Linked DNA regions of Homo sapiens: all the other regions are linked to region 1. The links are contacts of gene promoters, found by promoter capture Hi-C in blood cells and fetal thymus (Javierre and others, 2016). All regions are on one chromosome and are shown on one strand. The core of a region is centred on a gene start or on the middle of the fragment in contact, and the rest is flanking DNA. Distances in the headings are between cores, read along the strand shown. Region 1 holds the start of HMX3 (H6 family homeobox 3). Region 2 has its middle 94 kb from the start of GPR26. Region 3 overlaps LINC02641 (long intergenic non-protein coding RNA 2641). Region 4 overlaps LINC02641 (long intergenic non-protein coding RNA 2641). Region 5 overlaps LINC02641 (long intergenic non-protein coding RNA 2641). Region 6 overlaps LINC02641 (long intergenic non-protein coding RNA 2641). Region 7 overlaps LINC02641 (long intergenic non-protein coding RNA 2641).

Evidence for each region. Contacts are between HindIII fragments. The CHiCAGO score rates a contact against its expected background, and 5 or more counts as called.
Region 2: a fragment that was not itself captured here is called in contact with the fragment with the promoter of HMX3 in region 1 in 16 of 17 cell types (M0 macrophages, monocytes, M2 macrophages and 13 more); the score reaches 13.3 in M0 macrophages.
Region 3: a fragment that was not itself captured here is called in contact with the fragment with the promoter of HMX3 in region 1 in 12 of 17 cell types (M2 macrophages, total CD4 T cells, naive CD4 T cells and 9 more); the score reaches 10.9 in M2 macrophages.
Region 4: a contact is called between a fragment that was not itself captured here and the fragment with the promoter of HMX3 in region 1, in 2 of 17 cell types (M2 macrophages and M0 macrophages). The highest score is 8.7, in M2 macrophages.
Region 5: a fragment that was not itself captured here is called in contact with the fragment with the promoter of HMX3 in region 1 in 3 of 17 cell types (M2 macrophages, M0 macrophages and M1 macrophages); the score reaches 7.9 in M2 macrophages.
Region 6: a fragment that was not itself captured here is called in contact with the fragment with the promoter of HMX3 in region 1 in 1 of 17 cell types (M2 macrophages); the score reaches 6.8 in M2 macrophages.
Region 7: a contact is called between a fragment that was not itself captured here and the fragment with the promoter of HMX3 in region 1, in 2 of 17 cell types (M1 macrophages and M2 macrophages). The highest score is 5.9, in M1 macrophages.

Annotation. Positions count from the first base shown.
Region 1 is chr10:123,134,377-123,138,147 of GRCh38, forward strand. It overlaps HMX3 (H6 family homeobox 3), which reads left to right and starts at 1,594. Exons shown (of 2, transcript NM_001105574.2): 1 at 1,594-2,074; 2 at 2,682-3,771. The coding sequence starts at 1,675. The coding sequence ends at 3,355. RefSeq lists silencers at 763-882, 913-1,042, 1,423-1,502, 1,553-1,962, 1,973-2,022 and enhancers at 809-1,759, 2,942-3,771. The HindIII fragment of the contact is 8,924 bases long and covers 1-3,771 here.
Region 2 is chr10:123,570,806-123,574,576 of GRCh38, forward strand. No RefSeq gene overlaps it. Among named protein-coding and RNA genes, the nearest start is that of GPR26, 94 kb to the right of the region's middle. The HindIII fragment of the contact is 2,389 bases long and covers 754-3,142 here.
Region 3 is chr10:123,515,759-123,519,529 of GRCh38, forward strand. The region is part of intron 8 of LINC02641 (long intergenic non-protein coding RNA 2641); the gene reads left to right. Among named protein-coding and RNA genes, the nearest start is that of GPR26, 150 kb to the right of the region's middle. The HindIII fragment of the contact is 2,059 bases long and covers 1,112-3,170 here.
Region 4 is chr10:123,495,199-123,498,969 of GRCh38, forward strand. The region is part of intron 8 of LINC02641 (long intergenic non-protein coding RNA 2641); the gene reads left to right. Among named protein-coding and RNA genes, the nearest start is that of LINC02641, 150 kb to the left of the region's middle. RefSeq lists enhancers at 1,535-2,262, 2,263-2,989. The HindIII fragment of the contact is 7,946 bases long and covers 1-3,771 here.
Region 5 is chr10:123,476,253-123,480,023 of GRCh38, forward strand. All of the region lies in intron 7 of LINC02641 (long intergenic non-protein coding RNA 2641), which reads left to right. Among named protein-coding and RNA genes, the nearest start is that of LINC02641, 130 kb to the left of the region's middle. The HindIII fragment of the contact is 2,893 bases long and covers 504-3,396 here.
Region 6 is chr10:123,447,607-123,451,377 of GRCh38, forward strand. It overlaps LINC02641 (long intergenic non-protein coding RNA 2641), which reads left to right. Exons shown (of 12, transcript XR_007062326.1): 7 at 1,747-1,906. Among named protein-coding and RNA genes, the nearest start is that of LINC02641, 100 kb to the left of the region's middle. The HindIII fragment of the contact is 3,057 bases long and covers 219-3,275 here.
Region 7 is chr10:123,424,861-123,428,631 of GRCh38, forward strand. The region is part of intron 6 of LINC02641 (long intergenic non-protein coding RNA 2641); the gene reads left to right. Among named protein-coding and RNA genes, the nearest start is that of LINC02641, 79 kb to the left of the region's middle. The HindIII fragment of the contact is 603 bases long and covers 1,717-2,319 here.

The DNA of each region.
Region 1 (3,771 bases), core at 344-2,843:
GCTGTCTCTCGGGAGGGGACCTCACAAACAATTCTGATTTACTTGATGCTTAAATCATGAGTCTTAAATGTCTGCCTCATGGGCTTCTCGTGCGAACCGGGGAGCTGTTTTTAAAGCCAGTGGAGTGGAATGTCCTTTCACTAAGCCGTTCTGCAAAGGTCCAGTGTGGTTCTCTAAGGACTTCGCTGCCGTCGAGACGCGCAGCGGATGCCGCTGCTTGCCGCGGCGGAGGAAGCTACGCCGCTGCGCCTTCGGTTCACCTTGCCCCCATTAAAGCGTTAGTTAGACAGCTCCAAACGCCAGCTGGCCGGAGAGACTTCCTGGGAGAAAGTGCTGTCGTCGGGGTCACAGACTCGGAGTTGATCCGCGAGCCTTGGGCACCGGCGGCCAGAGCAGAGGGGTGCCCTTCCGAGAGCAGCCGTCGGTGCCGAGAAGCTGTTGCCCCAGCAGCCCCACCGAGTGACGCGCGGGTTTTGGCCGGGTCAGCGCGCATACGCACACAGGCACACCCACTCCTGGTCCCGGGGGAAGGCTCACTCTTCGGTTTTCCAGGGCTAAAGGCCAAGGCCACGCGGATTTCTGAGTCCGAAGACGCAGTGCGAGGACTTACACCTGGATTCCCTTACTATCGGCTGGATGGTGGGTGGGGAACCCAAATCCCTCTCTTCTTGGCCTCGCCCTTCCTAGCAGGCTTTAGGAAAAATACCGAGGTCGCCGGACCCCAAAGGGTAGGAAAATGATGAGTTCTCCGAGGGCCGAGGTCACGTCCTGCCTCTTGGGCCGGCGCTGCGTGGCTCTCCAGCTGCGTGGGGGCGGCGGGCCCCTGTCCAGCCCCAGGGGGCGGGGGAGCGGCAGCTGCGAGCGCAGATAACCCCGAGGTGACCCGGGAGGGCCTGGTCCGCCCCTCCCCCCTCCCGCAGGCCTGGCGGCGGGAAGCGGGTCCCTGCGCCGCAGGGGGGAGAGGCAGGCGCGGTCTCCGGGCTCGCGGCCGTTAGTGCGCTTCGGCCAAGGGCGCCGCCTGCTCCGCGTCCCTCGCTCGCCTCCTGCGCTCGCAGGAGCGCTCCGAGTGCCTCTTTAGCGGGAGCCAATATCCTTTTGTGCTAATAGGCTTGTCCTCATTTGCTGCCTAATTGGACTATATAAAGCCAATAACGGGCGGGCTCTTATAGCCCGAAGCCAAAGCGCCAAAATCCGAGGGAAGGCGAGGAGGGGGCGGTGGCGGAGGCGGCTGCGGGGCCGGGGCTCGGCTGAGCCTTCGCCTGCCTAATCCCATTTGCCATTGTACGCGCCCAATCGCCGTATACTCCCCGCATTTAACTTGGATGACATTTTGATTTCATCATTAGCATCCGGCGCCGGATTGACGCAGCCTCGAGCCGGGGACTGCTCTTGCTGCCTCCTCCGCGGGAGCCGCAGCCGCAGCCGAGCCGCCTCGATCCCTCGGTGCCGCGGCAGGGCCGCTCCCCGCCCCTCCGCACCCCTCCCTCATGCGAGCCCGCCCGTCTGGGTCCTCACTCCGCCCTCCCGCCGTTGGATTTGCGCCCGGGGCGGCCCCCGACTTTGCGCCCCGTAGTTGAGTTCCGTTTATGGTCTGATTTCCGGCCTCTCGCCTGCTCGCCCCGCCGCCCGCCTGTCCCGCTCCCTCCCTCCCGGGGACCCGGAGGAGAGGGGACCATGCCGGAACCCGGGCCGGACGCTGCCGGCACCGCCAGCGCACAGCCCCAACCGCCGCCGCCCCCCCCACCCGCTCCCAAGGAGTCCCCGTTCTCCATCAAGAACCTGCTCAACGGAGACCACCACCGGCCGCCCCCTAAGCCTCAGCCGCCCCCACGGACGCTCTTCGCGCCAGCCTCGGCTGCCGCCGCCGCCGCCGCTGCCGCTGCCGCGGCGGCCAAGGGGGCCCTGGAGGGCGCCGCGGGCTTCGCGCTCTCGCAGGTGGGCGACCTGGCTTTCCCTCGCTTTGAGATCCCGGCGCAGAGGTTTGCCCTGCCCGCGCACTACCTGGAGCGCTCCCCAGCCTGGTGGTACCCCTACACCCTGACCCCCGCCGGCGGCCACCTCCCGCGACCTGAAGGTACCGACCTCTCTTTGAACTTTCGTTGTCCCCCTGCGCGCCCGCCCCGTCCCCGCCCCGCGCTGCTTCCCTCCGCAGTTCTGGGACCCCAGCACCCGCAAACCCTCTGCTCGGTCAGTTTTTTTCGGCCCCTAGCCTGCCCTCGCGCTGGGTTGCGCTGCCCGTTAATCCAATCCCACTTGGTGAGAAAAGAAGTGGAATTGGAGCCCCGGGCACGGTGCTTCCCGGGAAAAGTGGCCTCGGGCGTGAATAGGGAGGCTTCGGACGGCCGGGGCTTGGGACACGGCCTGGAAGGAGGGGGTGATTCCAATGCGCCTAAGCCGAAAGGGAACCGTTCTGCCGGCCCCTGGCGAGGAAGCTGAGGGAATGGAAGGAGGTGGCCGCGCTACCACCATCTGCTTGCCTGTCCTCGGGAGGAGGGGGATCCCAGGACTCGGCGTCCCTTCTCTGGCCCAGCCGAGAAGGAGGCAGCCCGCGGGAATGGTGAGGCCTCATGGCCTGGGACCTGGAGGCCGGCGCGGGTTGAGCCTGCCGTCCCCAGGCGCCGGGCCTCGCTCAAGGCTGTGTCGGTGTGCATGTGTGTGCGTCCGTCTGTCTGTCTCCCCAGCCTCGGAGAAGGCCTTGCTGAGAGACTCCTCCCCCGCCTCCGGCACAGACCGCGACTCTCCGGAGCCACTGCTCAAGGCCGACCCCGATCACAAGGAGCTGGACTCCAAGAGCCCGGACGAGATCATTCTGGAGGAGAGCGACTCCGAGGAAAGCAAAAAGGAAGGCGAAGCGGCGCCAGGCGCGGCCGGGGCGAGCGTAGGGGCGGCGGCGGCCACTCCGGGCGCAGAAGACTGGAAGAAGGGCGCTGAAAGTCCAGAGAAGAAGCCGGCGTGCCGCAAGAAGAAGACGCGCACAGTCTTCTCGCGCAGCCAGGTCTTCCAGCTCGAGTCCACCTTCGACATGAAGCGCTATCTGAGCAGCTCGGAGCGAGCCGGCCTGGCCGCGTCCCTGCACCTCACCGAGACGCAGGTCAAGATCTGGTTCCAGAACCGCCGCAACAAGTGGAAGCGGCAGCTGGCGGCGGAGCTGGAGGCGGCCAACCTGAGCCATGCCGCGGCGCAGCGCATCGTGCGGGTGCCCATCCTCTACCACGAGAACTCGGCGGCCGAGGGCGCGGCGGCTGCAGCCGCGGGGGCCCCGGTGCCAGTCAGCCAGCCGCTGCTCACCTTCCCGCACCCCGTCTACTACTCGCACCCGGTGGTCTCTTCCGTGCCGCTGCTACGGCCGGTCTGAGGCCCCAGAGGGGTGGGGGAGGGAGCGCCCGGCCTCCTTGTCCGGACCCCGGAGGAGACTGGGCCGGGCCGAGGGCGCCGAGAAGTCCAGCGGCCTTCAGGAACTGGGGCTTGGGCGCGCAGCCTCTGCTTCCCCTCCCCCAGTCGGTAGCATTTTGTAAGTATTTGCAATGCATTTTCGTGCAATTCATCCCTAATGGATTGGAGGCGCTTCCCCTCTTACTTTTGGTTTTTGGCTTATATTAAGAGAAAGCAGGAACAAGACAAAATTTTCGGGTCAGAGATTTCGGCCGATAGTTTTTGTAAAATGTGCAGCCCTCCCTTCCAAATTTCCATTGCGCGGTGGCTTTTTGGTTTTATTTTTATAGAAGGAAAATAAGCGCAAAACCTAAATCCCTCTAGTTTATTCTTTTCTGC
Region 2 (3,771 bases), core at 698-3,197, 440 kb after region 1:
CAACTTCTTTAAGATCTGAAAATCCACGTATTTGTCTATGGGGCCGTGTTTCACAGTGGTTCCAGCGTCTTCTCTTGTATCATAGACGCAACAACCTAATCATGCAGGAGACTCCGGTCCAAGGTGTGTTTGGTGGCTGCACACACACTGAGATCCCCAAGACCCAGGATGGCTGACCTCATCAGGACCTGTTCGGGACCCTGAAACAACCCCTCCTATCACAAATGCCCAGATTCCACCAGGCTGGGCTACAAAACAGGTCCCCATGCTCAGCTAGCAGCTAGCAGCTAGCAGCAGGTCTCAGGCTTTCTCAGGGTAGCCTGAGGCCATGAAGCCACCCCCTTCACTTCTCCCTCTGGAAGCCTGCCTGGGGGCCCCTCTGCTCTGCTTCCATGGCCCATGGGGCCTCTCTTCCCACTGGAGTGGGAAGGAGGGACAGGGAGGGTTTCTGGGGAGGTGCACTGAGCGGTCCCGGGGGCGGTAGCTCCAGCTGACCGAGTTTGTTGTATTTTACCCAAACCTCCCACTGGAGTTGAGGCCCAGTCTCAGCCATGGCGCACTGTGTCTTTGCCTCCTTTGCCTCCTTCATGCACGTCTCTCCCTTGGGGACCTGGCCCGAGTTCGGACTTAATATCCCTCAGTGAAACCACAGCTTCAACCAAGAGGGGGCAAGTTCTGTCATGCAGTGCGGGGAGTGTCACGTGAGAGCAGGGCTAGGAAGCAGTTTAGGAAGTGGGAGGGGTCGGTCTGAAAAGCTTATTTTAGGGGACATTTCTAAAAAAAATCCTGAATTTTGTTCCCATTGACCCAGAGAAACATGGACTTCATGCTCCTCAAATTTCCAAACTTCAAGATCCAGCAGAAACTGATGCTAAGGGGTGGGTTGGGGTGGGGATCGCCTTCCCCTGAGGTCCCCTACCCCTGATTTAGGCTTTTCTGCTAGGGACAGACCTGTCAGGGTGGTGGGGGCTGGGGTGAAGGAAGCTGGACGGGAGCACAGAAGCCTTCAACCCTTCTCATCTCTGATTCTTCCTCAAGGGATTCAGAACTTTTTTTAAAATCACAGCGTCTGCTGCAAATCACAGGCAGGGGAGTAGCACCCCCAGGGCCGGGTAAAGCAGCAGCTATTTTCTAGCAGATGCATTGATTTATATTTCTTTATGGAACTGTATCTTCCTATTCTGTTATTTTTCACTTTGAGTAAAAATTAATTGTCTTGTTTAACCAAAAACACGACGGAGAGAAGGGAGAAAGGGAAAAGGGAAAGTGGCAGGGTTTGTGAAAGGAGCAGGCTTCGGAGTCTCACAGAACCAGGACGGGATCCGAACCCCAGCTTCACAGTGGGCTCCAGTGCTGTGTGAGCGTGGGCAGGTTACTTCCCCTCTCTGATCTGCAGCTCCTCACACATCTGCCTGGGGGATGATAAGCCACACATCACAGTGTTCTCAGGAAGATGACAGGAAATAGTGGATTTCAAGGTGGTAGCACAGAGCAGGTGCTGGCGTTTGTTCCTAAGTACCTCTCAGGAGCCACTTTGCCAAACGCATCAAAAGTAGAGATGTTGATGAAACCAGTGTGATATGAGCCTTGGTGACAGTCGCTCTGCCTCCTGATCAGAGGAGGGCTGTGCTGTCTTGGCAGAGTTGGAACCCTCAAAAGTAAGGTCAAAACTTCATTGGAGACGACATCTGGAGAGGAGAGGAGAGGAAGAGGAGGAGGAGGACGAGGAGGAAGGAGAGGGGAGAGAGGAGGAGGAGAAGAGAGGAGAGGAGAGAAGGAGGAGACAGGAGAGGAGGAGGAGAGAGGGGAGAGGAGAGGAGAGAGGGGAGAGGAAGGGAGAGGAGAGGGGAGAGGAGAGGAGAGGAGAGGAGAGAGGGGAGAGGAGAGGAGAGAGGGGAGAGGAGAGGAGAGAGGGGAGAGGAGGGGGGAGAGGAGAGAAGAGAGGAGGAGGAGAGGGGAGGGGAGGAGGAGGAGAGGGGAGGAGGAGGAGAGGGGAGGAGGAGGAGAGGGGAGAGAAGGGGAAGGGAGGGGAGGGGATGGTAGAGGAGAGGAGAGGGAGGAGGTACTGCTCAGGAGGCAGGAGGAATGGGCTCATTTGGGCCCAGAGAAGTGCCCCTGGCTTGAATACATTGTTCCAAGCAGGCCCTGACTGTGCCTTCACCAGTACTGAACACCAGGTCCAGCTTTTCACCTGGGCCATCTCATCAGTGACCAACCCACAAGAAAATCATTATTGCTTCCACTTTACAGAGAAGGCAGCTGAGGCCCAGAGGGATTTAAACAGGGCCTGACCAAGGAAGGCCTGCAGCGGGAGGTAAGGAGGCAGGACCCACTGGCGAGAAGGTGTTTTTCCCCCTTGACGTTTCTGTCCTGTCCGTGGGAAGCTGGGGGATTCTGCCCATGCTTCACCTCCCAGGGAGGCAGACATGTTGAGAAACACTGGCAGCTTCTCCCAGCACCTGCCTGATGCTTGTCCCTGTCACAGGAGGAGGGTTGCTAAGCTGTTTGGTCGGCGTCCACAGCATTTGCTGGAGGGCATGGTGACTGTGTTTCAAAGGTGGATGCCCATGTTCTAGCCCCGCTCTGTGCTTCCTCCACCAGGGGGCAGCCGCTCTCCTGCTCCCATCCAGGAGGCACACCCTACCTGCTAATCCAGCGCCTCCCAAACTTCCCCAGGATCTTGTTAACAGGCAGCTTCTGACTCAGCTGTGCTGGGGCGCCCGGGGCTGGGCTAGTCTGTCTCCCAGCTGATGCTGGTCAGAGGACCACATTTTGAGGAGCAAAGCAATGGGTTACAATCTTAGCTCAACACCTGGGGAAACCATCACCTGGGGATTATTTTAAAAATACTGGTTTCCAAACCCCACTGAGAAATATTAAATTACAGTCAGTTTAGAGGCAGAACCCAGGAAATGAATGATTTTTGATGCTCTTCAGGAGAGTCTAACATGCAACTAAAGTTGAGAACTACTGTTCTAGAAGCAGGCTTGCCTCTCTCTGCCCACCTGTGACCAGGCAGGTAGTGGGCTGATCTAGGTAAGTGTGCCCAGATTTTGCCTGACAGATCCAGCCTCTGCCTCCTCTTCTCCCAGGGCACGCCGGAGACTCCACATTCCAAAAATATGAGTTGCCCTTGACTGGAAGCTTTTCTCTTCAATGGAGCTTTTTTACCCAAGGTTCACATTGGAGGTTCTGGGCATCTGGCCAGACAAAACAGCCCTATACTTCCCACCTGGCCATTTTTCTTTCTGTGTTGGCTCCATCATCCAGAGCCCTGCCAGATGGAGGAGTACCAACATCTCAGACTTCTGAAAGACTAGAACCCCAAGTCTGTGTGCTCTCTGAACCTCTCAGCTTCCCAAAGAGGGAAGATGGGCCTCTCTCTCTCTGCTGCAGGTAGGGAAGAACCACGAGATGGAGAAGCGGCAGCCCGATCACCCCCAAACCTCGTCAGCATCCCCACCTGGCCCCAACCTGCCAGCCTTCACCAGGCTCTTAACAAGAGGCCAGTTCTCAGCCAGCCTCTCTCCTGTCCTTGAGCGGCAAGTGGGCAGCTGAGCAGAATTGTAGAAGGTAGGACCTGCTGAGCCAGGGCCACTGGCTTGGCCCTCCCCTCTCCCCAGGTCTGAGCAGGAGGTCATCAGACCCCAGGGGGCATCGTTCATGTCTCAAAGGTGTTGAGGGAAAATTCTCTCCTGGGGTGTGGGCTAGACCTAGTGACTCACTCATGACAAATCAAGTATGGAGAGGGAAAGAAAGTAAATTGCATGA
Region 3 (3,771 bases), core at 891-3,390, 380 kb after region 1:
TGGGTCTCAACAGAACTTTTGCTCATTCTCTGGGTAGCTGAGTCCATCCCTGCCTCTGGGCCTTTGTACAGGCCATTTCCTGAATGCTTTTCCCTTCCTGCTGTTGGCAAACTCCTTCCCCCTTCAGCCCCAGCTCCCTTCTGTGCTGTGTGGCTTCTCTGGCCGACCACGGCCAAGTTCCTCGTGCTCTTCCCAGGATTACTGCAGAGAAACATTCCTGCCCCTGGTTCATGCATAACTTCACTGGCGCTCTCTGTTATGTGCCTGTCTCCCCCAGTAATTTGGGATGTCCACAAGGGCAAGGCCCATGTCCTCTCCTTCTTCATAGCCTTAGGGCTTTACCCAGTGCTGGGTATATATCAAGTGCTCAGTTAATATTTATTGCATGAATGAATGAGTGAACAACTGGAGTTGGGGTCCTTGGTGGCTTTGCTCTCTGAGCCTTGCCTGCCTCCCTTGTTCCCTTGTTAGGATATTCCACATTCGTGGCTGAGCCTGTGGAGCCTGGTGTCATGAACTAGCTCCCAACAGGGTCACAGACAAATGGAATTTAGCCCTGCTCTTCAGCCAACTTAGCTTGTGGCTTTGGGAAAATCACTCGTTCAGGGTCTCTTGCTTCCTCATCTCTAAGGTACACCAAAACATCTTGCCCAGGGAGCTGCTTGGATGGGTGCTCATGCAGGATGAGGGTTCTCTGATGGTCAGGGCTGCAAGTGGGAGTAGGTTCAGTCTGTTTCTCTCCAGCAAGGTGAGCTGGGTGGTCCCATCTCTGCTCTGATTTTTTGTTCCCTCATCTTTAGAGTGAAGGTGCTGCACTCAGCCACTGGCAGCATTACTGGCAAAAGCCACTGTGGCCACAGTCTACAGCTGGGCCACATTCAAACTCAGCTTCCTTAGGAAACCCAAGCACCTTACTGAAACACTCACAGCTCTTGTCAATCACCTGGAAATCATGGGTCCCACCATGAGCAGAGGATAAAAGCCATAGCATCGAGGATCAGTGCTCAGATGCATGAGCCGGGAAGCCCCTCGTTAGGGCTCCCCCTGCTAGGTTCTAGTACATTAAAGAGTCCACCAGCACACTAAAAAAAAAAAACCTGAAAGTTATACAAGCTTTGTTTGCTGTCACTGGAGGCAAAGCCAACACATACATGGACATATCAATAATCAGGATAAAGTTTTGATGTGAAGTAAGAAAATTATCACTCGTGATAGAAATTGTTTCTATTCATGTTTCTTTCTTGAACAAATGCACGCTTGTTTTTTTTCCCCAAAGTTCCAGATTGCTGCCCTTTTCTTAACTTTTCAAAGAAAACTTAAGTACTTTGAGCACAACCAGTGTTGAATATTTTCCTTTGTCAGATACTACTTGAATCTATATTTTAACATGTTCCCATTATATTTCAAAGAGTAGGCATGATTGCTCTTGAAAAAAACGTAAGACCAAAGACAGGGTCTTGTCTATTATCCCATCCTCCACCCCAGAAATGTTCTCATCAGAGCTAGCTGGGTGTCATTGATTAAATCCTGAATGATGAATCGTAAGCTCCTTTATTTTATACCAGAAGCGACTGGTAAGTGGACGTAAATTGATTTTGGAGAGGATGCTAAGTGATAATCCTTCCCAGGTTTCCAGTAAAGAAAATATACCTATTTGAGGGAATTTTCAACTTGGGTTTGAACCTGCTGATGCCTTTCTGGAGTCCAAGTGGAAACTATGGCGCTTTTGTGTGCCTGTCAGACGTCTTGCTTAATGCCGAGGGAGGAATGATAAATATGCAGAATGCTTTGATGTTAATACCAAACAGGCCTCCAAAGGAGTGGAGTTGAAGGCAGTTGACACTGTGGTTTTCATCCCTCGGCAGGGATCGAACGGATGCTTGAAAATAAATGGCACCTGTGGAGAAAGTGCCCCATCCCTGATTATGTCATCGGAGCCTCTGGTCCCCACACCGGCTGGAGGGCCCTGGGCTCAGCACTCTGCCTGACAGGAAGATGTGAATGCGGGCAGGGGATAAAAGACAGTGACTCACTTTGTTTTATTTTGTTTGCCAGGAAGCCTTTCTGATGAGCCCAAGCAGCCATCACTAAAAGATCCGTGTGAAATGGAGGCTAATCTTCTGCAGGCAGGGATATGAAAGGAGAGGGTCTTCTAGAAATGCAGAGACGCCTCCTCTTGACTGAGTTCCTTTCCCCATGGGACCTCAGTTTCCCCATCTGTGAAATGAGGGGGTTTTGTAGGTGATCTCTAAGATGCTGTTATTTGCCATTAGCTAAGAAGATGAAGTGCCGTATGGTCCCTTATGGTGGGGATAGGCAGCTTGTGTGGGGTCAGGACTGTCCCTTACGGTGGGGATGAGCAGGTTTCGTGGGGGAAGGACTGTCCCTATGGTGGGGGTGAGCAGCTTGCATGGGGTCAGGACTGGCTTCTTTGGAGGCATCTGTCTCAGCCCCCCTCAAGGTTAACCTCATTTCCTGGTGGGATTGGTGAGTGGAAAAGCCAGAGGGTGAGGAACCAGGGCCTTCTAGGATGCCAAAGACCCTGTGCAGAGGTTGTCTGCTCTGTGGGGGCTCTAGGCCTCTCTCCTTTATCCAGGGAAGCTCTTCAGCACTGGGGGAGGAGAAGGGTTTGGGGAATGGGAGGCCAGCCCAGCATTCAGGAGCCCAGATCCTTGGTACTTACCAAACCTCTTTGTGCACCTGCCCCAAGTGCTCAACGTGACACCCAGGGCCATGCCTCTACTTGTCCTGCCTCCTGGTCTGGGCTGTGTTATGACTTAGGGGCCCTAGACATTTTTGTCTTCAGAAACCCTTTCTCCATAAAAAAATTAGCATTTTGTTTTACAACTGCATTGGTCTAAAGATGAATATAACCCAGGCTTGATGTGTTATTATGCATTCATTATTCTTATATTTCTTTCTTTCTTTGAATTTTAAGATAAATAAAAATGAAAACACTTTCATGGACCCTTAAAGGTTGTCCTGAGCCCTGTGCCTGATGAATACGTGGACTCTGCTCACCAAACTCCCTATGAAGTCCGACCCCTTTAGAAGCTGCAAACCTACCCTTCAGATTTGCATTCCCAATGACTAACCCCTGCCCAGTAAGAGGAGCAGAAGGGGATGGGAACTGTTTGCTGAGTTGTGTATATGAACTCAGCTGGGAGGGAAGCTTGGGCCATCCTGGCATCAGAGGACAGCCCAGCCCAGGCAGGCAGGCAGCCTGGTGCAATGGGACAGTGTGTGGCTTGGGGTCAGGAACACTTGGACTCTCACCTCTACCACCCCCTTCCTATCTGAAGGACCTGGGCCTCAGTTTTTTAATCTGTAAAATGGGACTAATGCCACTTTGACCACAGGTTTCCCAAGGTACATGGCACTGGATTAGTGGGAGCTCTTGTTGGAATGTCACATGTATCATGACCACAGGATTCATATTTTCCAGGAATCCTCAACATCCATTTGTTCCTATGGTCTCATAAGTGCATTCACACTTGGCGGACCACGAGGCCCAGTTCTTGCTTCAGGAATAACAAACCAGTAACTGCCCAGCTGGGTTTCATAGCAAAGATGCAGCAGGGCTATTTTTGCTTTTCTTTCTCCAACAAGAGATTTTCCAGGCAAATCAACTGGAAATGATTGTGTGAGGGAATTGAAGCTCTGGGGGCCCTTGCAGAATTCTTTCTGTTAGTTCACTGGCAACAAACTTTTTGTAAGTTGGCCAATCTTCGCCCTAAAGACACTATGCGCAACTCAGCCTTGAATCAAACT
Region 4 (3,771 bases), core at 667-3,166, 360 kb after region 1:
ATGGCCAACACTGCATCTTCCTTGCCAGGATTAGGGGTGAAGAAGGTGGTGCTGGTTGGAGTGGTCCTCTCCTCCTTGCCCACACAAATAGTGAGGAGGCAGCCTTCTCTCCTGGCCTAATCCTGGCTGGTCATTCACAACGCACAGGTGTATTCACCTTGTCCTGGAGGCTCTGCGAAGCTGCCATCATCTTCATTGGGCTTTTCTTCTTGGCTCTGGCTATTGGAGGTCCCCAGCCTTTTTTCTAGGCACAGGGACAGAGTTCCCATCTGAGGACTCACCAACTTCCTCTGTGGGCAACTGATATGAAAGGAATTCAGGGTCTGTGGGCAGAGTTTCCATTAAGTGTTGTTTTCATTCTCACCAAACCCATCTCGGCATCTTTGTAGCACTCAAGAAAAATGGAAACCACTAATTTCCCTGGCAGCAGATAAGACCAATGAGTTATAGAATTTGGTCATTCCCGCAAGAAAGGTTTGGAAGAATTGCTTGGGAGGCTCAGGGAGGGAGAGGAGCCATCTGACTGGAGGCATCTGGAAGAATTTCATGGATATACTTGAGAAGACCCTTGTGGGACAGGTGGGGTCCGCAGGTGCAGTGAAAGGCAGGCCACCTCTGTGGAGGCTACAGCCTGGGAACAAGCTGTGTTCAGGGAGCAGCCTGTTGTTCCATTTGGGACCACAGCCAGGGTGTAGAGAGATGTTGGAGTGACCATTCTGGCCTTGCAGTCCTTGTGCAGTGACAGGCAGGAAGCAAAGAATGAACTCTGTGGGAAATTATGGAATAAAAAGGGGTCTGCATGCAAATTGTGGGCAGCATCAATGCCAGGGTCAGAAGGAGTTAAAAGCCGGCCTCTCCTAATTTTCCTGCTCGTAGGAAGCCATCTGAGATCTCTGAGGCTGATGGGCATTCTGCTTTAGGAAAATTAATCAAAAGTGAGTACTCTATGTCTTCTGGTCAACTTGAATTCTTTGTGGAGACAACTTAGTTGAGATGACTCCTCCTGGAATTCTTGGTTCTTGGGCCTCAGCACTGTTTCCTCTTCCACAATTATTCTCTTGACATCTTGGAATTTAGAATGTATTAAGACATGCCGCTCATTCCCAGTCCTCCTCCCCCCACCACTCTGTGCAGATCTGGGGCTAACGGGACTGTGGACCTCCTTTAAGGAAAGGTGCAGACCAAGGATCAGCCCCCACATTTTTTTTTTTTCTATAAAGGGCAGATAGTAAATAATTGAAGCTCTGTGGGCCATACAGTTTCCGCCTTTACTACTCAACTCTGCCACTGCAGTGGGAAAGCAGCCATAAACAATACATGAATGAATGAGCGTGGCTGGCTTCCAGCATAACTTTATTTATAAAAACAGCTGGTGAGCTGGATTTGGCCCGCCTCTCATAGCCTGACGACTGTTAGTGTAGACAGTCAAACGGCTTGGGTCCCAACTGTCTTTTCAAGCCACCTTGCCTCTTGGCTCCTACACAGGCCTGTCTTGCTGCTGAGATTCAGAGAGGGGGCTAATGCTGGCTTCGCCTGTCCCCAGAGGGGTGTCAAACCTGATGATGCCACCTTGACAACCATATTGACTTGGTCCAAGCACACAGACTGTTTGAGGAGTGTAATAGAATGCAGAAATATGCCCAGAAACGTTGACTTTAAGGGCACATGTAAGTGGGCCTGGAGTTTCCATAACAGGGCCAGCACCTCCTGGTCCAACTTCTCATCATTTCACAAAAGGCCATTTGTCAGAAATTCCTTCAGTGTCCACTGTTGACATTGCTGTCACTCTCTACTGGCGAGTCCCTATCACTGATGTGACGGACAGTTTAAAACATGCTTAGAACGGCTGTCAGCCATCCTTTTGAGAAAAGCCCACCAGGACCCGATTAAAAACAGAGCTTGTAGCTGAAGCCGTTCTTGCCTTGATGACACATAGTAAGTGGCAGGTAATCCTCCTCCTAATCTCCTCACTGCCCCACAAGGCTTATGGTAACTGATATCCCTGTGAATGCCACGGAGTCTGATTGAGTTACCTGGAGAGGCCAGGGCTTCTTCCTGCCCCTTTCCTAATGGAATGTATTTAGATAAAGGCACCTTGAAGTTGGCCACAGTCTCCTGAGATGTTGCTCTAAAGGGAAAATTTGATTTCCCCTAAGCTGCAGCCGATATTACTTTTTTATTTTCCCTGAAGCATTTCACCCAACATGCCTCGCCTGGCCATTGCACACCTGTCTACAATTACAGCCAGGGGGTGGGGCAGGGAGGACCCCTGGGGCTTAACTGCTTCCTATTGTGGCTGCAGCCTTTGATTCCAGGGTCAAAGCAACCCTTGCTGCTGGGGGATTTTACTTTCAAAATTCTGACTTTTCCCACCACGATTAAGAACTGCTTTGTAGCCTGTACTGCTGCTGACACGAAGGTTTAATGGACCCGTTGGGATTGGAAGACCAAGTGGTTTGATTCAGTCATTTGTGAGTTTGTCCCTGCTCCTGGAGCCTCTCACTGGAGACATGGAAGGCAGCCCTGTGGAGCAGAAAGAGCCCTGGACTGCTCCTTGGAACCTGGCCTCTCCTCTCTGTGTCACTGACTTACTCTGGGGGTGACCTTGACCTGGTCCCTTCCCTCGGCCCATTTGCGAAACAGGGAAGCCTAGTTAAAAGATCACTCAGGTTTAGGGGTGCCAGACCTAGCAAATAAAAACACAGGATGCCAAGTCCAATCTGAATTTCCAATGAACAATGAATAATTGAATATTATTCAGATGAACAATGAATACTTTTTCTAGCATAAATTATGCTCCTTGCAACATCAGAGACACACTTTAAATATTATTATTTATCCAAAATTCAAATTTAACTGAGCATACTATATTTCACTCTCCTCATGTTGCTTTTACCTCAAGTAGTTTCTGAATCCATACTTTGAGATACATATTTTTGGTTTTGCTATCCAGTGGCTTTTGGTAGCCACAAGCAAGGGATAAGTGTGAAATGTCTAGATAATTCTGAAAATGTATCTTCCCTGACTTGTACTCAAGCCCAAACCCATGTCTTTGGAAACATTGCTTGGTGACCGTGTCTTCAGTGCATGGTACCTGGTAGATGCTCCATGAGTACTGGCTGAATGAATGAATGGATGGCACATTTCAACCTTTGTATGACCTTCGTGTAATACATGCTTCCATTTAACAGAGCTACCAGGTCTTCCTGACACATGCCCCATCCTTTCCAGAGCACTCTGCCTTCGTTCAAGATAGTTCCTGCCCTACGAGCCAACTTTCGTCAGACAGGGGCAGCATTGCACAGTGGGTAGAATCATGAGCACTGGAGCCAAATGGCTTGAGGTTGATTCCTGCTTCTACCATTGTGTCCTTTTGGAGAATTTCTTTTAACTCTCTGTGCTTCTGTTTTCTCATCTATGAAAAGGGGTAAACAATAAAACCTACTAAGGCAGTTGTGAGATGAGATAATGCATAGATGTCATTATTATTTAGAATTATAAAGGTTCTTATGAGATTCCATCTGCAAATCCTAATCCCAACCATTATACAAGGGCCACCTCCTCCATGAAGCCTCAATGGTGATCCTCTGCCCTACTCCACAGGTAAAAACAATCTCTCCCCTTAGTGCTTTGGATACAAATGAACTGTGGCTATTTCTCTGCTGTCCTACAGATTGCACGTTATTTGTGGGAAGGATCACCTGGGTGTTTACTCATTGTCTGGTGCATAGAGGAGGCCCAAGGCATCTGTGTTGATTGAGTGAAGTAATA
Region 5 (3,771 bases), core at 700-3,199, 340 kb after region 1:
ATGAACGGCTTCGTGATGCCCTTGTGGTAATGAGTGAGTTTTGGCTCTATTAATTCACGTGAGAGCTGGCTATTTAAAAGAGCCTGGCATCTCTCTTGCTCTCTCTCTCTCTCTGTCACCATGGGACACACCTGCTCCCCCTTCGCCTCCCACCATGAATGGAAGCTTCCCAAGGCTCTCACCGGAAGCAGATGCCAGAGCTATGCTTCTTGTAAAGTCTGTAGACCCATGAACCAAATCAACCTCTTTTCTTTATAGATTACCCAGCTTCAGATATTCCTTTATAGCAATGCAGAATGGACTAACACACTCCTTTATAGCCTTCCACTCCAAGCCTGGGCTTCTATTTAGCATAATGCTCTAAAATTCACTCCTGTTATAGCCATCAGTAGTTTACTCCTTTATTGCCAAACAGTATTCACTTATTTGGATACCCCACCATTTATCTTTTCCCCAATCAGTGGACATTTGCATTACTTGCCATTTTTGGCTATTGTGAATAAAGCTTCTCTAAACATTGGTGTGTAGCTTTTGTCTGTACTCGAGAGTGAAATTGCTGGGTCCTATGGTAAGTATGTCATCATATTCCTGCTCAGAGAGGTGGCTTCCTGCAACCAGTTTTCTTTTCAGGATCCAGATGGGTCCCAGGGACCCTAAAATAAGGCCCCTAGTTCTGTCCTTCCTGGGAAGGGAGAATGTTATATACGGTGGAAATAAGGAGATGATCAAAGTATGATTTTTTGAATTTCATAGTGTATTGCCGTACCAAAAAAAATCTCTTCTTAGGGTCACGATGCTTAAAGAATAAAGAGAAGAAAGCTCACAGGGAATCTGCTTGATAGATAAAGTACATTAACCACTTAGTGAGTGGGTTCCAAAATTATTACAGTCTGGTTGCTCAGTTAGGATGGAAGCAGGTCTCTCTGGGGAAGGTAAGGTCTGAGTAAAGGTTGGAGTATACCTTCCTACAAGCAGCTCTCAGAGAAGCTGGCTCAACCATCAGGGCAGAGATCTGGAGGTCCAGCGTAAGGACCCTCCATACTGGGGGACTGTGCTGGAGCTGGTGATTAGTCCCGAGGCTAACAGGGTGTCGCCTAGTTGCACCTGAGCTCTTGGTGTTGGAGAAGCAGCTGTGATGGCAGACATACTGGTTGTCTTTAGAAGCAGCCAACTGTGTAGACTACCACGGCCTAAGCTCTCCAAATGTCCATTAAACTCTTGGTAACAGAATATGTATTCTGAAGTCCAGTAGTTGAGGTCCATAACTCACAAATGGGAATTCTGATAAGGTTTGACATCACATTCCTGAGAGGAGGGAGTTCACTCCAAGTTTTCACACAGAGTGTCTGATGAGATATCCCACTCTCAAAGGGAGTGTGGAATACACAGTAAAACATATGTCATTCATGTAGCAAACTATGTAAGTGCTTGAGATCATTTCAAAATGGTATCACAGGAAGGCCTGTGCTTTGCCTGTGGGTTAAGATCTACCTGTCCTGGCCTGGAGTAATCTCATAGTGCTCAGAGGTTGGTCATTAGGCCCTCCCAATGACACAGGCAGTTGGGAACTGGGGATAAAACTAGCATTCAAAAAACTCACATCTTGATATTCTGAGCCGATGACCTAGAATAATGGTTCTTGGTTTGCAATGGCTCTTTTTAAGGGCCTTCTTCAAAGGGCTTCCTCCCAGGTGCCCCTGGGTCCCTGATGGTGGCAAATGGCCCGTCTTCTTTTTTCTTAGTAAAGTGGGTCTCATGCTAGATTAAAATTTCTGGGTGCTGAGGTGAGGAGGTAAGGCCACTTCTCACTGCCTAGCTGGAAGGCAGTTAAGTTCTTCCCAGTCAATAGGCCTCTATCGACCTGCTGTTAGAATTTTACTAGGCTGGGGAATTGTGAGATCCATATATTGTTTGAAATGGAAAAGAGGAACGAGTTAGGGAAATGTCCAGGCAAATGTCTGTGTGTTTGGAAACAGAGCTATTCTCTTCCAGGTCTTTTCTAGTGGGGTCATTTGCATGCCCATCTGATAGCAGGGGCACAGCCAGGCCCAGCAGATATAACCCATCTGGACCTTTGAATGAAAAATAAACATTGGCTTCTTTTAGTTTCCAAAGGTCATTTGCATAAAAACTTGCAGGATTTCCAAGGCCTTGGCAGTGGACTGGAGAGTGAGAGGTGGAGAAAAGGAGGTTTGCATGACACTGGGACAGCAGAACAAAGCAGTTCAGGTTAACCCTTATTGCTTCCTTGTAAATTCGCAAAGATGTGAAGTCCAGAGAAGTCAGGGTGGGGGCCCTGATCCTTGCTCTGGTTCCACTTCTAATTTCCCACTTGACCCTTTGGACCTTAGTTTCCTCTTCTATAAAGTGAGTGAATGAGCCAGATCTCTGAGGTTGTTCATTCATTCAAGCCATTGGCATTTCTTGAGCACATATTATGTGCCAGGCACTCTGCTAGAACAGTAAGATGCAACAGCGCAGACAAGGTCCCTGCTTTCAAAGAGCTCCCAGCCCAGTGGGGAGTCAGATGGGCCAACAGACACCCAGCCCGCACTGTCACAATGGTGTTCAGGAAGAGAGAGAAGCCTCGTGTTGGGGGATAGGAATGACCTAGGCTGGGTGGCATAGGGTAAAGAAAGGTTTTCTGGGGTAAGCAATGCTAGTTGCCAGTTCTGACTGTAAAGTCTCAGACTTACCCACCTGCCCTTTCTGAGAGTTCTTGATTGGAGACGATCTGGGGGATCATATCCAGATGACAGCCAGCATGTCTCTGATATTGACAGACTCCTCTTATAGGTGTAAGTAAAAAGTTCTAAGTGACATCTGCATCTGAATTAGGGCTGCCTTCTCCTCCCTGCTGTCCTCTCTCCTGGGTTCTCCATTAGATCTTCCAGAACAGAAACATGGAGTTCAGTTGGCAGTGGAAGTGATTTCACCCCAGCCTCGACCTTGGTGTCTACTGGGCGGTGTCTCCGCTCAGGCCCAGCCTCTGGGTTTAAGATACCAGAGTAAAATGTTGATGTTATTGTAAGTGCGTAGAAAGAAAAAGAGGTGGTAATGCTGGCAGAAATTACCCTAAGTTCATTTAAAACATCCTGTGCAAGAGTTAAAATCTAAAAGTAAAGGAAATAATTGCACATTTTGAAAAAAATACTAGCTGAGGCCCTCCCAGCCAAGAGAGAGGGTACCATCAGCAGAAAGAGCTCTGAATGGGATCAGGAGACTTGAATTCTGACCCTACCTTTGTCTCTCACCAGGAAAGGCCTCCAGGACTGAGTTTTCCCATCTGTAAAATTCGCAGGTTGGACCAGGCAGGTTGCAGGTGTCTTTGGTGCATGAATCTGGGAGTTGGTCAGCCAATGGGACTACATTGTCTTTAGTGTAGCTGCTGGGGAAAGCTTAATTCCCAGAATCCAGGAGAATGGGCTCCAGCCCAGCCAGCGCCAATCAGATGAGAGAATGAACCAGTGTGAAAGGAGAAGCGAATTCTGGCAGATGAATCGGTTTTTGTCCTTTTTGAAGGATCATATTACACGGAGTTTCTCAAAGAAGAGCTGTTTTGGTGGGTGTTTCCCCAATTGGGTGTTTCCCCAAATGCTTGTGGGTGCATCATCTGCCTATGGACATGCCCTCCAAAGAATTTGTTCTACACCCAGATCCTTAGCAAGATAGCTTTATTGAAGAAACACAAGCTTTATCAGCCCCAAACAGTTGAGACCAGCCTCCTTTGGTCCCCTTTCCCTTTAAGAATTCTTATTGTGACTGACTGCA
Region 6 (3,771 bases), core at 497-2,996, 310 kb after region 1:
TGTGTCCCCGATAATTTCACTTACTAAATCTGACAACCCTACAGTCTTGCCAAAGGAACTCTGGGCTCCAAACCCAGAAGGGCTTAGGGCCTCAGCCTCCCACTCTTCATGGAAACTGAGAAAGCCCCAACAAGGAGGAGGGAGGAGGGCCAGGCCTGCCAGCTCTGCAGAGAGAGACACTGTCAGTGTAAGTTGGCAGTTACGGATGTAGGCTCAGAAGCTTGACTGCTGGGTTCAAATCCCAGCTCCAGTGCTCACTAGCTGGGAGACCTTACAGCAGTGGCCTAACGTTCTGAGCCTCAGCTTTTCCATCCACAGAATTGGGAATGAAGGGATAGCTCCTGCCTTTCTGGGCTGTTGTGAATCTATTCATGTAGACGGTGTATAGTGATCTTGTCCGGGTCGTACATGGCAATGATCCGTGCAGGCAGTGGTGGTGGTTGCTGTGTCATTTTTGGATGAGTCTGGGGAGGGGGCCTGGGTCGTGGCTTCTGGTCCAACCTCTGTCACGAGCTTGCAGGATTTCCTTGGGCTGGTCCCACCTACCCATTAGGGCTACAATTGTCTATGTGTACAGAGCAGGTTGGACTCAGTTCATTGCAAATTAATTAATTAATTAATTAATTTTGTTTTGGAGATGGAGTCTTACTCTGTTGCCCAGGCTGGAGTGCAGTGGCGTGATCCTGGCTCACTGCAACCTCTGCTTCCTGGGTTCAAGCGATGCTTCTGCCTCAGCCTCCCAAGTAGCTGGGATTACAGGCACGCACCACCACACCCAGCTAATTTTGTATACTTAGTAGAGATGGGCTTTCACTATGTTAGCCAGGCTGATCTCAAACTCCCGACCTCAGGTGATCTGCCTGTCTTGGCCTCCCAAAGTGCTGGGATTACAGGCGTGAGCCACTGCGCCCAGCCTATCTATTTATTTTTGAGACAGAGTCTCACTCTGTTGCCCAGGCTGGAGTGCAGTGGCACAATCCCGGCTCACTGCAACCTTTGCCTCCCGAGTTCAAGTGACTCTCCCGCCTCAGCCTCTTGAGTAGCTGGGACTACAGGCGCATGCTACCATGCCCAGCTAATTTTTTTTTTTTTTTTCTAGTAGAGACAGGGTTTCACCATGTTGGCCAGGCTGGTCTCGAACTCCTGACCTCAGGTGATCCATCCACCTCGGCCTCCCAAAGTGCTGAGATTACAGGCATGAGCCACCACACCTGGCCTCATTACAAATTTAAAAGATGTTTTATTTGAGTAACAGAACCATTCTCCAAAAGAGAGCTCACAAAGAGCCCCAGCAGATAGACGGCCAGGTGTGGTAGCTCATGCCTGTAATCCCAGCACTTTGGAAGGCCAAAGTGGGCGGATCACCTGAGCTCAGGAGTTGGAGACCAGCCTGGCCAACATGGTAAAACCCTGTCTCTACTAAACAGACAAAAAATCTGTTGGGCATGGCGGTGCATGCCTATAATCCCAGCTACTCGGGAGGCTGAGGCAGGAGAACAGCTTGAACCCAGGAGGTGGAGGTTGCAGTGAGCCAGGATCCCACCACTGCACTCCAGCCTGGGTGATAGAGTGAGACTCCTTCTCAAAAAAAGAAAAAAGAAAAAAAGAACTCCAGCAGATAGAGATTAAACAAACAGAGCTGCTGGGGTTCAGAGGTGGATGTGTGTGTGTGTTTTATGGGAGGCGCTCTGGGTTAGTCCCCTGCCCTGCCCTCCTCACCTGGTCCATCTTGTGGGCATCCCCTAGGTGAGGCCAGAGGAGCTCCGTGCTGCTAGGAGATCCAGGCAGAAACATCCAGGAGTGGAAGCTCAGCCCAGCGGCTGGGAGGCTGTGGCACCTCCTGTCCACATGGCAGGCCAGGCCGAGGTGGGCTGGCTACACAGTGGGGCTCCCCCTCTCTGATAAGGTAAGCAGCTTGTTCATTGTCCCAGTGTCACTTGGGTCCCAGACAACCTGAGAGAGGGAGAAGGGGCTTTGTTCTCTTCGTTGCCTGGGGGTGGAACAGCCCTCTCTCACTCAGGGCCTTCTAGGTTCTTGTTTAATTAATCCTTCCTCAAACTCCATTCTCAGATATTGAAGTCTACACTCGAGTCCCCATTTTGTGGACAGGCAGGCTGAGGCCCAGTGGGGGCACCTGCTTGGGCCACACGGAGCCAGGGAGGGCTGAATGAGAACCTCCTGCCATCTTGGTGGTGGTGATGTGGGGCCCTGAGGGGTCATTTGTGTAGTCCCAGGGCTTGATTAATGGGGGCTAGACTAGGGGGCTCAGTCTCTCACTTTAGAAGCTGGGGAAGGACACCCACAGAGCTTCAGCAACTTGCTCAGCTCACATCACAGGCCAGAGCCAGCAAAGGCCCCATGCATCTCCCCAGGTTGAGTCAGTGACACCCGCTCAGTCAGCAGACAGCACCTCGAGAAAAAAATGATGTCTTCTTCTGCACCCTTTCCTGCCTGTAAATGGGCCTTTTGTTAAAAGCTCTGCCCTGTAAAACATGTAAGACACCTACCCTGTGTCCAAATTTCTTGCATTTCCTTTTCCTTCCCCTCCCCTACTCCGTCCCTGCATCAGGGACTCAGACATCTTCTAGGTCAAGTCTACCTTTCATTGGTGATGGGCAAGGGTTACCAATTGATGGGGTGACTCCTTAATCTTTAGGCCAGTTAACCCAAGAAAATCAGACCTTGCTAGTGACAGAGGAGCCCCTCCCTGGCTTTCTAGTTGGCCTCAGCGGTGCTACTGGTGAAGGTGGTGGTGAGATGTATGGACCGCCTGGTTATCTGTTTAATCCCCACTGCTGCCATTTGATTGTAATGGGGCCAGGTGGAAAGGGTCAGGTGTCATCATTCAGCCATTTATGCAGTGAATATTTACTGGGCACCTACTCTTTGCCAGTCTCTTGACTGGACAGATACACCCATGAGTCAATCATGACTTGTCCTCTGAGGAGCTCACAGTCTAGAGAGACAGACATGCAGATATCAGAAAATAACCTGAGTCAAAGGTGGCAGAAGCAGGACACACATAGTGGTGTGGGCATAGAGAGATGAGAGAATGTTCAGGCTTAAAAACATCCACATTATTTTTGCCTTTTGTAAGGCCAAACGGGGAGAAGGTGACAGAAGGGACGAAGATGCCCCAACCTGGAACAAGTCAATCATTTTAAAATTTCATTGCTGAACCCAACATAATTCAGACCTCATATCTGGCGAATGCATCAGTTCATTAGAACACAAAAATACACTATCAAACAGACAATCAAATTTCATGTAAAATAAGCTTCAGCATTAAAATGGTTCCTGGTGTTTTATGTGTGTGACTCGGTGGGCAGATATATTTCTTGCTACTAGAGCAAGACTGATTTGTGTGAAGGCTCCCGTCACCAAATCACTCGGAAGGCTAGGAGATAAAATGTCGCTTAGGATAATGTAATTGGCCTTAAGGTACAGGAGTTGAATTATTTTCAGTGATTTATAATCTGGAAATTAAAGACTCACTCATTTTCTAATTTAATTCCATCTTCAATGGAAAAATGTTCACTCTGATCTAAATTGGCGAGTAATGTTGCTAATTCAAATGCAGATGTAATTTCGATTCTGGTAGCAGTTTGCAGTGATTGACGGGTCTCCAAAGAATCATTACGATCCTTATCTCCCAATCTCACAAATTCCCCGGCAGTTGTGATAATAACTTCGGCTAAGGAGAAAAGGGAAAAAAATAAATTCTCCCCTGCCCTGTCGGTCTGGGGCTCGCCTTTTGCAGGATGTGAATTG
Region 7 (3,771 bases), core at 768-3,267, 290 kb after region 1:
ACATGATATAAAATTAACCATTTTAATGTGACCAATTCAGTGGCATTTTAGCACATTTACGAGATTCTGCAGCCACCATCTCCATCTAATTCCAAAACATTCTCATCACACCTAAATAAAACCCCATATCTATAAACCATCACTCCCCATTTCCTCCTCCCCCCACCCCTGGTCTGCTGTCTCTATGGATTTACCTATTCTGGATATTTCATGTAAATGGAATCCCACACTATTGTGACTTTTTGTGTTTGTCTTCTTTCACTTAGCATAGTGTTTTCACAGTGCGGCCACACTGTGGCATGTGTTGGTACTTCAATCCTTTTTATGGTTGAATAATATTCCATTGTGTGGATTTACAACATTTTCTTTATCCATTCATTAGTTGATGGATATTTGGGCTCTCTCCACCTTTCGTGTATTATGAGTGGTGCTGCTGTGAACATCTTTTGACGTTTTTGTAAAATCACAGCTAGAGACAAGTTTAGGGCCCGGTGCCCTGGACATGCCAGCTTTTCCTGGTGGTCTCCTGTACACCGTTAACATGGAAAAGGGCACTTTACCTCTACTCTGACAAGTTTAAATGGAAAAACTCAGGGACAGTGTCTCTGTAGGCGTCTCTCAAACCCACCTCTTAAAAGCCCACCCAGAGGTTGCTTAAGAAATTACTAGGTAATTGAAGCAATAACTTTCAAGACCAAAATATATATTTTCCTCTTCCATAGAACACAGCGCCCATAACTCCTGTGATGCTTTTAGCTGTTCTTGGGAATAAACTAACGACCCCTCTCCTTCCCTTCTGCTGAATGAAACACCGGAAGGAAAAAGTGCAAGCCAATGGGAATCATAAACAGAGAAGAGAGAAATGCTTTTTAAAAAAATTCTCAAAATATTTAAACCCAGAAAAGTGCAAATAAAATCCAGCACCACTGGCCCCAGGAGTCGGAGCGCTGGTCTTTTCTGTGCTACCTGAGGTTTGAGTGTGCAGTTGCGGGCATATGGGAGGGAAGGCTCCTGCTGTCAGCATCGAAAGCAGATACTCATTTAAATTCCAGTTGCATGCCTGAACGTTGTTTCTTCCGGAAATGTCAGCTCTCTTAATTCTTTCCCCTTTTAAACAGATCCAAATGATTTCCCCTTGATTGAAGTAAAAAGAGTGTAAATATTTTAGCATTTCATAAAACTGGAAACATTAGAGGCTACTTTCACAGTCATTTGAATAACAGCAAGCATTTCCTAGACATTCTAATCAATTAACTTTCCAGGGTAATTTTTCAAGGGAGCAGAATGGTCCAAAACCAGGCCAGTCACACTGTTGCCTGCTCACGTTTCTGTCACTTTGGTCATGGGGAATTTACCTATAAAGGGAAAGGGAGACTTCTCTTGCTTTGACCACAATAAATTGAGTGTGTTTGCGAGGGGCAGAGTGGTGGCCGTGGAAGCTAGCGTGTGTTTAGGCCCTGTCTGGGGCACGTGGAGGAACAGCTTTCTCCTTCTCATTGGCATCAGGATTAAAGAGAAGAAAATGGGTTGCTGTCTTTTCTACCTACGCAGCAGAAGGAGCATTCACAAATGAGAATTTCCCCAGCCCCAGCAGGGTGTCTAAGGAGCTACTTTGTAGAGTGTAATTTCATGTAGTATCTAAAAAAAAAAAAAAAAAAAAAAAAAAACTCCTTGCCAGGGTTCCCTCCACTAAAGGCCATTTGGAAGAACTTGGCAAGCTTAACGATGCCCTGAAAGGTTGCAGAGAAGAAAATGTATGGACATCAGCAAGTACCAGGAAGGATGCAGGCTTTGCCCGCAGAGACTTTGGAAGGCGCTCAGGTGTCTCCTGCAGGAACCTCCACCTGTGACAACACAGGCTCAGCCTCTGGGTGGAAACCCAGATAAGGACTCTGTCACCAGATTTCAAATCGTGGCCTATGTCTTTGGGCTGTGAGTTGGGGAGAAATGTTTAATTTTTACTTGAGCCTCATGGAGATGAGGGGAGCTACAGGCTGCTGACAACTATTTCTGATTTGTTTGGCTCCTGGGTGGGAGGGAGGCAGGAAATTGGAACAGGTCGCCCATTAGGAGCTAATGCGTGCTTAGGTCTGGTTGGCTGAGCTGCTTCGGCTCACCTGGCCAGGGCTTCTGTGCTTCAGGAGGGGCCTCACCTTGGGAAGGTGTGAGGAATGTCCCAGCCAGCAGAGATGCCAACGTGGAAGAGGGGTTGGAGACAAGGAGGCTCCGTTCCCCTGACCTTAAAGACCAAGAATGTGGAGAGCGGAGGATGAGAGAGGAGACGAAGTGTTTCATGTCTCCTCGCCCAAAGAGGGCTGAAGCTTTGCATCTAGCAGGTACCCAGGACCAAGAACACAGGCTGAAGTTCCCCCTCGCACTGAGAGATGCCTCCTCCCTGGCCAGAGATGACAAATGTGGCAACAGAGCCATAGATATCCCGAGTCGGGAGAAGATGGACAGGGAGAAGTCATTAGCAGTGACAAAGGGTCTCCGTAGTTGAGCATCAGTCGCCTAAAAATGATTGCTAAGGTTAAAGCTGGCAGTGAGGGAGAGGGAAGGGGAGACCGGCAGGGAGATGGGACTGTGCCTTGGGCTATTTTATCTGAGATGGCAGAGGTTCAAGACAGCGCAGCCTCCAGTCCGCACCTTCCACAGCCTGGCCAGGGAATTTTCTGCCCTCTCTGTTGGCATATTCAGGTTGGAGCCCTGCAGGAGAAGATCGCACACTGCAAATTGAGCAAGTCGCTGTGATTTCGCAACTGGCTGCGCTTCTGCATTTCTGAATAGAGAGTGACAGGAAAATCCTAACATGAGCTCGAGAAATACTGTCTCAATTAACCGTCTTTATTACTGCATAGCACTTTGTTTTATTATATACTTTCATTGGCAAACCATAGCAAACAATTTCACTTCAGCAAACAACATTATGCTTGTTCCAGCTCCTTTTCATTTTGCATTTATTTTGTCATAAAAATAAAAGACAAGGAAACCTCTCATTTATCACTAGATCAAAAATTTTCCTGCCATTTCCTTGGGAGGAAAAAAAAGAAGAAATTAAGAAAATTTAGGGTGATGCTTCTAGTACCTAAACATGAAAGTATCAACCGATATGTTTTTGAAAATTGAAAATAAAATTATGGAGAAAATGCTTTATTTGATTCTCTGTTTATGGGAAATTCATTTTATTTGACTTTTTTATTTGTAATATCAACTATGGAGCAGAGCACAGTTTGCAAGGTGTTCCCTGACAGTCTCATTCTTCTAAATTATTAATGCCGTGCTGTTGATATATTGTCAGCCTTGTACCTACATTCTATGAAAATGAGTTTTACAGTAGGTTGGGATTTATAACAAAGCTTGACATATGCAGCTAATTCACCTACACAGTCCTGTCAGTTTTAGGTTCATAAATAATTGATACTCAAGGCTTGAAGTTCAGCTACTGTTAGTACTTCAGCTGTTAAATTTCAGCAGCATAATGGATGAATATTTGTTTATAATTTCTGTACATGGTCCCGATGTCAGCTCCCTTGCTTCATTTGCATAGGTAGATTGAGATGTTGGAAGTGTAATGAGCGCGTGAAGATGACGAATTGTTTGCCAGGATGCCGGTGCGGTTCTGTAAATGTTTGATTAGTTCTGAATGGATTACTGTTAGATTATCTGGTTCAGAGGTTAACATGAGCAGCTCTTTGCTCCCGGAGCTTTTGTGATCCCTTGCTGACAGATTTTAAAATTCATACCGTGAGATCAGAGCTGCAAAGGCGAGGG